2 separate regions of the Homo sapiens genome follow, and region 1 is linked to region 2. The links are contacts of gene promoters, found by promoter capture Hi-C in blood cells and fetal thymus (Javierre and others, 2016). All regions are on one chromosome and are shown on one strand. The core of a region is centred on a gene start or on the middle of the fragment in contact, and the rest is flanking DNA. Distances in the headings are between cores, read along the strand shown. Region 1 overlaps ERI1 (exoribonuclease 1). Region 2 holds the start of TNKS (tankyrase).

The links. Contacts are between HindIII fragments. The CHiCAGO score rates a contact against its expected background, and 5 or more counts as called.
Region 1: a fragment that was not itself captured here is called in contact with the fragment with the promoter of TNKS in region 2 in 1 of 17 cell types (neutrophils); the score reaches 9.8 in neutrophils.

What each region holds. Positions count from the first base shown.
Region 1 is chr8:9,032,771-9,037,514 of GRCh38, reverse strand. ERI1 (exoribonuclease 1) reads right to left here. Exons shown (of 7, transcript NM_153332.4): 7 at 4,177-4,744. Among named protein-coding and RNA genes, the nearest start is that of MIR4660, 13 kb to the left of the region's middle. The HindIII fragment of the contact is 824 bases long and covers 1,349-2,172 here.
Region 2 is chr8:9,553,350-9,557,478 of GRCh38, reverse strand. It overlaps TNKS (tankyrase), which reads right to left and starts at 1,567. Exons shown (of 27, transcript NM_003747.3): 1 at 867-1,567. The coding sequence starts at 1,539. RefSeq lists enhancers at 563-1,222, 1,223-1,884 and a silencer at 1,305-1,464. The HindIII fragment of the contact is 11,121 bases long and covers 1-4,129 here.

The DNA of each region.
Region 1 (4,744 bases), core at 511-3,010, 520 kb after region 2:
CAGAAAAAAAAAAAACCCAACAATACAGTACATATGAATCTCTGCAGCACAAATGAAGGGCCCAATGAATGTAACAAAAGTGCAATGAACAAATAGAGGGAGTTGTTGCCAAAGGTCCGGGCTGTCTGGGAAGAAGGCTGAAATCACAGCAGGTCTTTAACAAAACAGAATCAAGAGAATAAGACTGATGGGCTAACTTCCTGGGGACAGAAGTAGGATGGTGCACATGCGACTCAACGCGAGTGTGATGGTGAGGGGAGTAACTATTACCCTAGAGCAGATGGTTACTGTAAAAGTTGGCAGACAGAAATCAGACTGTGAAGGTTCTTATATGCCAACAGAGAGCTGAGTTTTATCCCATCAGAAATGTGAAGGTTTCTGAGATCAGTGTGCAAAGCAACATTTTAGGAAGGTTTTTTATGACAGTGGTATACAGGAAGAGACAGCAAGAGAGAAGTCTGTTAAATTTTAGCAATAGTCTGTGTAGCAATGATGATAACAGAGGCTGGGGTGAGGATAAAGTGACTGGACAATAAAGGACATTGTGCTAAAAGGGGGAGGGAGGGACTATGAGTTTCATGGTTTCAATCCTATGTGACTGTGATAATCATGGTCCCACTGACAAAAATAAATCCAAAGGGAAAACAGGTCTATGTTCAAAGGTGCAGAGTCGGCAAGCAAGAATGGACACTTCAAGGGGAAGGCTCAATCGCTGCCCTCCATCAATCTGCCATCACCAGTGATGGTGTGCCACACTACATTAGCAAACAGAAAATCACAACCTTGCTCCTCTTTTGTTCTTTTACTCAATAGAAAAAAAAAATGACTTGTATTCTAAACTTGCTCTTGATCATACTATATACAGGCATACCTCAGAGATACTGCAGGTTCAGTTCCAGACCACTGCAATAAAGGGAGTATCACAATGAAGCAACTCACACAAATGTTTTGGCTCCCCAGTGCATATAAAAGTTAAATTTAAACAATAGTCTATGAAGTGTGCAAAAGCATTATGTCTAAAAAATACATATATACCTTAAAGATTAAATTTCTAGAAAAAGGTAACAATCATGAGTGTTCAGCAAGCCATAATCTTTTTGCTGGTGTAGGATCTTGCCTCAAACGTTGAGGGCTACTGAGTGATCAGGGTGGTAGGTGATGAAGATTGGAGTGGCTGTGGCAGTTTCTCAAAATGAGACAACAATGAAGTTTGCTCCATCAACTGATATTTGTGCTTTCACAAAAGATTTCTCTTTATCATGCTGTTTGATAGCATTCTATCCACAGACCTTCTTTCAAAATTAGAGGCAATCCTCTCAAACCACGCCACTGGTTTATCAATTAAGCTTATGTAATATTCTAAATCCTTTGCTGTCATTTCAAGAATGTTTACAGCATCTTCACCAGGAATAGATTCCATCTCAAGAAATCACTTTCTTTGCTTATCTGTAAGAAGTAATTCCTCAAGTTTTATCATGAGGCTGCAGCAATTCAGTCACATCTTCACTTCTAGTTCTCTTGGTATTTCCACCACATCAGCAGTGACTTCTTCCACTGAAGTCTTGGGCCCCTAAAAGTCATCCATGAGGACTGAAATCAACTTCTTGCAAATTCCTGTTAAGGTTGATATCTTTACCTCCTCTCACGAATCACAAATGCTTGTAATGGCATTCAGAATAGAATGGTGAATCCTTTCCAGAAGGTTTTCAACTGACTTTGCCTAGATCCATCAGACGAATCACTACCTATGCTAACTACAGCCTTATGAAATGTATTTATTAAATAGTAAGACTTGAAAGCCAGAACTACTACTTGATCCATGGGCTGTGGAATGGATATTGTGTTTGTAGGCATTAAAACCAACATTAATCTCCTTATACAACTCCATCAGAACTCCTGGATGACCAGATGCATTGTCAATGAGCAGTCATATTTTGAACAGATTTTTTTTTTTCCTGAGCACTAAGTCTCAACAGCAGGCTTCAAATATTCAGTAAATGATGTAGTAAACAGATGTGCTGTCATTCAGGCTTTGCCGTTCCCTTTATAGAGCACAGGCAGAGTAGATTTAGCATAAGGGCCCTAGGATTTTCAGAATGGTTAATGAACACTGACTTCAACTTAAACCAGCTACATTAGCCCTTAACAACAATCAGCCTGTCCTTTGAAGCTTTGAAGCCAAGCACTGACTTCTCTCCAGCTATCAAAGTCCTAGATGTTATCTTCTTCGAATAGGCTATTTCATCTACATTGAAAACCTGTTGTATGGTGTGGCCACCTTCATTAGTTATCTTAGCTAGATCTTAGCTAGATAACTTAGCTAGATCTTAGCTAGATAACTTGCTATAATTTCTACATCAGCACTTGCTGCTTTACCTTGCACTGTTTTATGGAGACAGCTTCTTTCTTTAAATTTCATGGACCAATCTCTGCTGGCTTCAAATTTTTCTTCTGCAGCTTCCTTACCTCCCTCAACCCTCACAGAATATGAGACAGTTACAGTCTTGCTCTAGATTAGGCTTTGGCTTAAGGAAATGTTGCAGTTTGATTTTTTATCCACACCACTAAAACTTTCTCCATATCAGTAATAAGGCTGTTTTGCTTTCTTATCACTTGTGTGCTCACTGGAGCAGCACTTTTAATTTCCTTCAACAACTTTTCCTTTGGGTTTACAACTTTGCTAATTTGGATCAAAAGGCATAGCTTTCAGCCCGTCTTAGCTTTTGACATGCCTTCCTCTTTAAGATTAATCATTTCTAGTTTTTGATTTAAAGTGGAAGACATGTGACTCTTCCTTTCACCTGAACACTTAGAGGCCACTGTAGGCTTATTAATTGCCCTAATTTCAATATTGTGTCTCAGGGAATAGGTAGGTCTGGAGAGGGAGCGATGGGGAAAACACAGACATTTATCAATTAAGTTCGTTGTCTTATATGGGTGTGGTCTGTGGTGCCCCAAAACCACCATGATAGTAACATCAAAAGTCACTGATTACAAATCACCCTAAGAGAGATAATAATAATCAAAAAGTTTGAAATATAGGGAGAATTACCAAAATATGAGACATGAAGTGAAAGTATGCTGTTGGGAAAATGACATAAATAGACTTTCTCCACACAGGATTCACACAAACTTTCAGTATGTTAAAAAACAAAACAAAACAAAATAGTATCTGCGAAGCACATAAAGAGAAGTGCAATAAAATGAAGCATGCCTTGTGGCTCCACAATGATTGAGCAGTATTCATCCTAAAACAAATCTAATGAAATTTACCTTGAGAACATTCACTTGCAAGTAGAAAAGCAGATCTGGTTTAAAGCCTCGGGCATCCGCCCCTTACCCAAGTCTTGGTAAGGAATCCAGAAAAACAAGTACTTCCAACTCTTCATCAGTCAAACTTAAGCCCTTTAGCCTCTGTGTCATTATAAACTCAAGACACTAACATTTCTAATCTCAAGAACATGGAGGAAATTTTAAAGCAAAAATCGTTCTCCTTCTCCACTTATCCCCATCTCCGAAAAAACCTTACAGCTGGTCACATTAGAAGTTAACAGTATTTTATATTGTTTCATTCAAAGAATGAACATCAAATTACCTCCTGATTTGCAACATTTAGTACAATCGCATTGAAAATGTCTAGTTTAAACCATACAGGAAGATGTTTATTCTACCTAGGACAACCTACCTGTTCCTGGAATATCAGGTTAAGCCAAAGTCTACAACGGGAGGCAGCATAGCACAGAGATAAAGAGCAAGGCTCAAGCCATACTGCCAGAATCTACAGCTCCCACTACTTAAACTTTGGCAACTTAACCGCTCTGGACCTCAACTTTCCCATCTGTAAACTGCAGAGAATGCCTCTCTCCATCACCAGATTCTTACTAAACAATGGAGTAAAGTACTTAACAGTGCTCCATAAATGTCTGATGCAAGTATCATTGTACCTTAACATTCAGCTCTACGCTCTCATCACAGTCGCATTTCTTGTTTGTTGATGGAACTTATATATTGCATTACATAAGGGAGGTAAGGGTAGGCAAACTTTCTCCATAAAGGGCCAGACAGTAGTATTTTTTGGCCTTGCTGGCCAGATGGTGCCACTGATGCAGCTATTCAACTCTGCCATTGTAGCACAAAAGTGGTCAGAGATGACATGAAAACAAATGAGAATGGTAGTTCTTTCCAAAACTTTATTTAGAGAAACTAAAATTTCGTAATTTTCGTATTATACAAAATATTATTTTGAGCCATTAACAAAAGGGAATATAAAAACCATAGTTTGTAGGCCATACAAAAATAGGCAGCAGCCAGATTTGGCCCATGGGTGGTAGTTTGCTGACCCCTGCTCTAGATTAACAAATTTACGGGCTTTGGAAGCTTTGTGGGGCAAGGAGGCTTGATATACAGGTTGGTGGTGCAGAACAAAGAGGAAATTTCTAAGTATAATAGAAAAAAGATGTAATGCTGTCCTTCATGTATCAACGCTGGATTCAACTATGTGCAAAACATTTTATCATATGTCGCTGGAATCAAAGATGCAGAAGTCACAGTCTCTGGTCTCGAGGAGCATATACTTCTCCATGGTAGCTTAGAAATGGAAAGTCTTCCTTCAAAGTACAATACATCCTTCTCAGACTTTGACAATGCACCCGTGCGTGCTCATCTGTGAGGCAGGTAGTTTCTTTGGCAACTACAGCTGAGGCCAAACATGCATTATTATCTTGACCACCTGTGCTTCTTCCCC
Region 2 (4,129 bases), core at 318-2,817:
ACAGTTCTCTTTATTTTATAAACATATTATTAGGTGTCTTTGAGAGAAAATCATCAACTACTTGCAAAAAAAAAAAAAAAGACAAGTGTGGGGTCCAGAGCTTAAGAAATTCACACTTTTTGAGGGAGAACTTTGTGCCAGATACTTCTCACCAAATGCTCGCACAACATCATTTTATGATTTTTGCCCATGAGAAAACTGAGGCAACTGACACGAGGTAAATGGTCTGCTAGACAACAAATAATAGTGGCCACAACATCAAAGCCTATATTTCTTCCATCATCATATAATGCATCCAAATATTCTTCTCCAGTTGTTTCACATTGGCATATTTTGGTCTCCCCGTCTAGACTGCAAACTTCTTTAGAAGAAGGGAAACTTTCAAACACTTCATTTATGTCTTTCATTGGGTTATTAAGGCTACAATAGATCCTCAAACATGTGTTGGGTTGTATTAAACCTCTTTTGGTCTGGACTGTCCTCAAAGGACATACCCTTGTAAAAACAAAATAAACTAGCACACAAACGACAAAACTACTCTAAAGCTGTCCAAATCTAACTGTATTCCTGCACACCAAAAACTAAAGTGTAAATATATCCATATGCAGAGACTACCAACTACAGTGAGTTTTGTAATGAGTACTGTGCAACCACTGAAGAATTCCTTGGATTCACTTATCCCCCCCAACCACGCCCCCATCACCCAGGCACCACCAAAAGAAAGGAACCTCCAGTCTTCTGGTGAGGTGATGAAGAACCATAACCACGCCCCCACTTTGTCCCATCACAATAACCTGTTTTCTTGTCCTAACCGGACCCTGCACCCAAACCCATAACCCTTAATAAACAATTCAAAAGTCTCTGACCTGCAGCGAAGTGCAGGGGAGAAGACTTCCGGCCGGCCATGTCCTTTGCATTTACGTTTGCCGCGTCCACCAGCCTCTTTACCCGGGACACGTCCCCATTGCGACAGGCCTCCAGCAGTTCCCGTAGGGCCCCGCTCACTGCTGGGACCCCTGTCCCAGGTCCTGCTGCCCCAGGCCCCAGTGGTGCTGTGCTGCTAACTCCGGCCGCCTCGGGGCTCTCCGCCAAGCTCGATCCAGGGGAGGATGGAGAGGAAGATGAGGAAGAAGTCGGGGAAGAAGAGGACGACGGTGAATTGTTACTGCCACTGCCGGCTGGGTTGGGAGCGACCCCAGCGGCAGATGAAGTAGAAACCGCTGGGACCACGGGAGCGGCGGCGACGGTACAGATTGTGCTGGTGGTACTGCAACAGCTGGTACCGTCAACCGGGTCCGGGGATCGGGGCCTGTCGGGCGGATCCCGACTGCCATCCCCCTCCGGCAGCGCTAGGCCGTGCCGCGGGGAGGCGAAGGGGGCCAGGCCGCTGGCCGTGGGAGAGGCTGGGGTGGTCCCCGGGGCCAGGCCAGGGCTGAGTGGGGGAGGAGGTGGCGGCGGCGGCGCTGAAGCCCCTGGGGCGGGCTGGAGCTGTTGTTGATGATGGTGGTGATGATGCTGAGAGCGACGCGACGCCGCCATCTTCGGACTCCCCTAGCACTGTCACTGCGGCAACGGCCCCCACCGCCCGCCCTCACTTCCGACTGTCGGACCAATCAGCATCCAGCGCACAGGAAATGATGCTAGGCGGGGTAGCAGGGGCCAAAGAGAAGGAGGGAAGTATTGGGAGCTCAGAGAACAGCCAAGGGAACGGGGCGGGGCTTTGTCACTGAGAGGCGGGCTTTGTGACGTGGTGGCGGGCCGGCTGGAGAGATTTGAATGCTGGAACCAGCTTCTGCCTAGATGGGAAACATTTCCTGCATTTCTCACTTTCAGTCGGCTTTCTTTGCCCTGCTCCGCTCTGTTTCCCTTAGTCTCCCTTTGCTTGCTCCAGAGCCAGCTGTTGAGATGCAGATCAGAGCAAGCAGGGAATGTGTCCGTTATCATCTATTAAGCGTCCTTGTCTGAAAAATGGAACTTATAGTACCAACCTCACAGAATTATTAGCGGGATTAAAAGAGCTAACAGACAAAGCGCTCTGCCAGTAAAACACAAGTATAATTAGCCCGTTGGTAATTTTTTAAATTATAGTATTTCTTTTCCAGGTGTCCCCTTGAGCTCTTGTCCCTTCCCTATAATTTTTCTCACCCTATGTGCTTTAATTCCTCGTTTTTAAATGCTGGTTCAGATTGCTAGGATTGGCGTTCCAGCTCTGCCATTTGTTGTTTATATATGTACTTGCTATTTCATCACTCTATGCCTGTTTTTCTCTGTAAAATTGAAATAACAATAGTGCAATAAGTGTGAATTATTAAAATTATGATTTTTTTTTCCTATTCTGCTCTCTCTGAAATTTTATTTTTCACCCTAAGTGTAACTAATTATGAATATATTCCTTTCTTTTGAATTCTGGCTTAGCTTAGCCTCTCCCACACCCGAAACAGATAAAAACCTGATTGCTAGGCTGGTCACGGTGGCTCATGCCTGTAATCCTAGCACTTTGGGAGGCCGAGGCCGGCGGGCCACTTGAGCCCGGGAGTTCAAGATCAGCCTGGCCATCACGGCGAAGCTCCATCTCTACAAAAAATACACAGATTAGCTGGGCAAAGTGGCACATGCGTGTAGTCCCAGCTACTCAGGAGTCTGTTGGGAGGATCACTTGAGCCCGGGAGGCAGAGGTTGCTGTGAGCCGAGGTCACACCACTGCACTCCAGCCTGGGTGACAGAGGGCGGAGACCCTGTCACAAAAACAACAAGAAAACATAACAAAAACCTGATTGCTGTCCATTACTCACCATCAGGTGCTATTTTTCAGCAACTGCTTTTTCTGTCTTTCCCCCAACCTATGTATACTTTTGTTTTTCTACTATCAAAAGATGTATCCATGAATGAGATAATCCCATTGAGGACTCCATTTCATACCTACTGTTCAATAGTAAAGCAGGCATTGTAGAAGTATACAGAAACAGCATTATTCCAATAGAGTGGACACAGATGGAAATTCTGTAAGAGAAACAAGATTTAGATGAGTCAAGCAGAATATTAAACTAGGTGATAAATTGTTTCATGTGTTCATTGTTAAATATGATTTATGTGATGTTAATATTCCCATTTAAGTAAATAGATGAGTTTATTTGGGGTTAGTAAGTAAATACAATAAGGTCAGGAACATAATTAGTATTACGAGTGGCATTTATTTTCATCTAATCTGGGGTTACAGATTATAATTCTTAACATTATCCAGCTGTGTGATGAAATGTGCCATTGTTCGCAGTAGACACCGGACAAAAAGTGTAGCTGGATAGGAAAACTCACATCAGTGCAACTAAAATCAGTCCACAACATTCTTCTTCATGCTTCTGTTTTTTAATCTTAACTTCTTGATGTACAGCAGAGAACCATTGAGAAGTGGGAGTGATCCAACATGATATGTTAGATATCCATAACACACCATGTGTCCCCTAAATAATGGCCTCCTGGAATGGGAGGCATAAGAAATATCTCATCTGGTCTCCCAGTGGTCAGTTACTCATAGAAAGTAGTGATGTTCAGACTTATTCAAAATGCATCTGTTGTGTCTATCAGTACAAAAAATAATAATAACAATAAAATAAGGAAGTCTCTGCTGGACAGAGATTTTTAAAAACTAAATTGCCGGCCAGGCCCAGTAGCTCACACCTGTAATCCCAGCACTTTGGGAGGCCAAGGTGGGCAGATCACGAGGTCAGGAGTTCCAGACCAGCCTGGCCAACATGAGGAAACCCCATCTCTACTAAAAATACAAAAATTAGTTGGGCGTGGTGGTGCGCGCCTGTAATCCCAGCTACTGCGGAGGCTGAGGCAGGAGGATGGCTTGAACCCAGGAGGCAGAGGTTGCAGTGAGCCGAAATCGTGCCACTGCACTCCAGCCTGGGTGGCAGAGCAACATTGTCTCAGCAAAACAAACAAACAAACAAAAAACAAAAAACTAAATTGCCTGAAACTGGACTGGAAAACCATGTCTGGAAATGCATTCAATCAACTGGAAATTGCTTTCTTCCCCTCGAGCAGAAAGTAGGAAAAGTACTTAACATTAAGTATTTATGAAGTTTGGGTTTATACCGACTAATGTTGAGCTCCAAACATGAAAGGA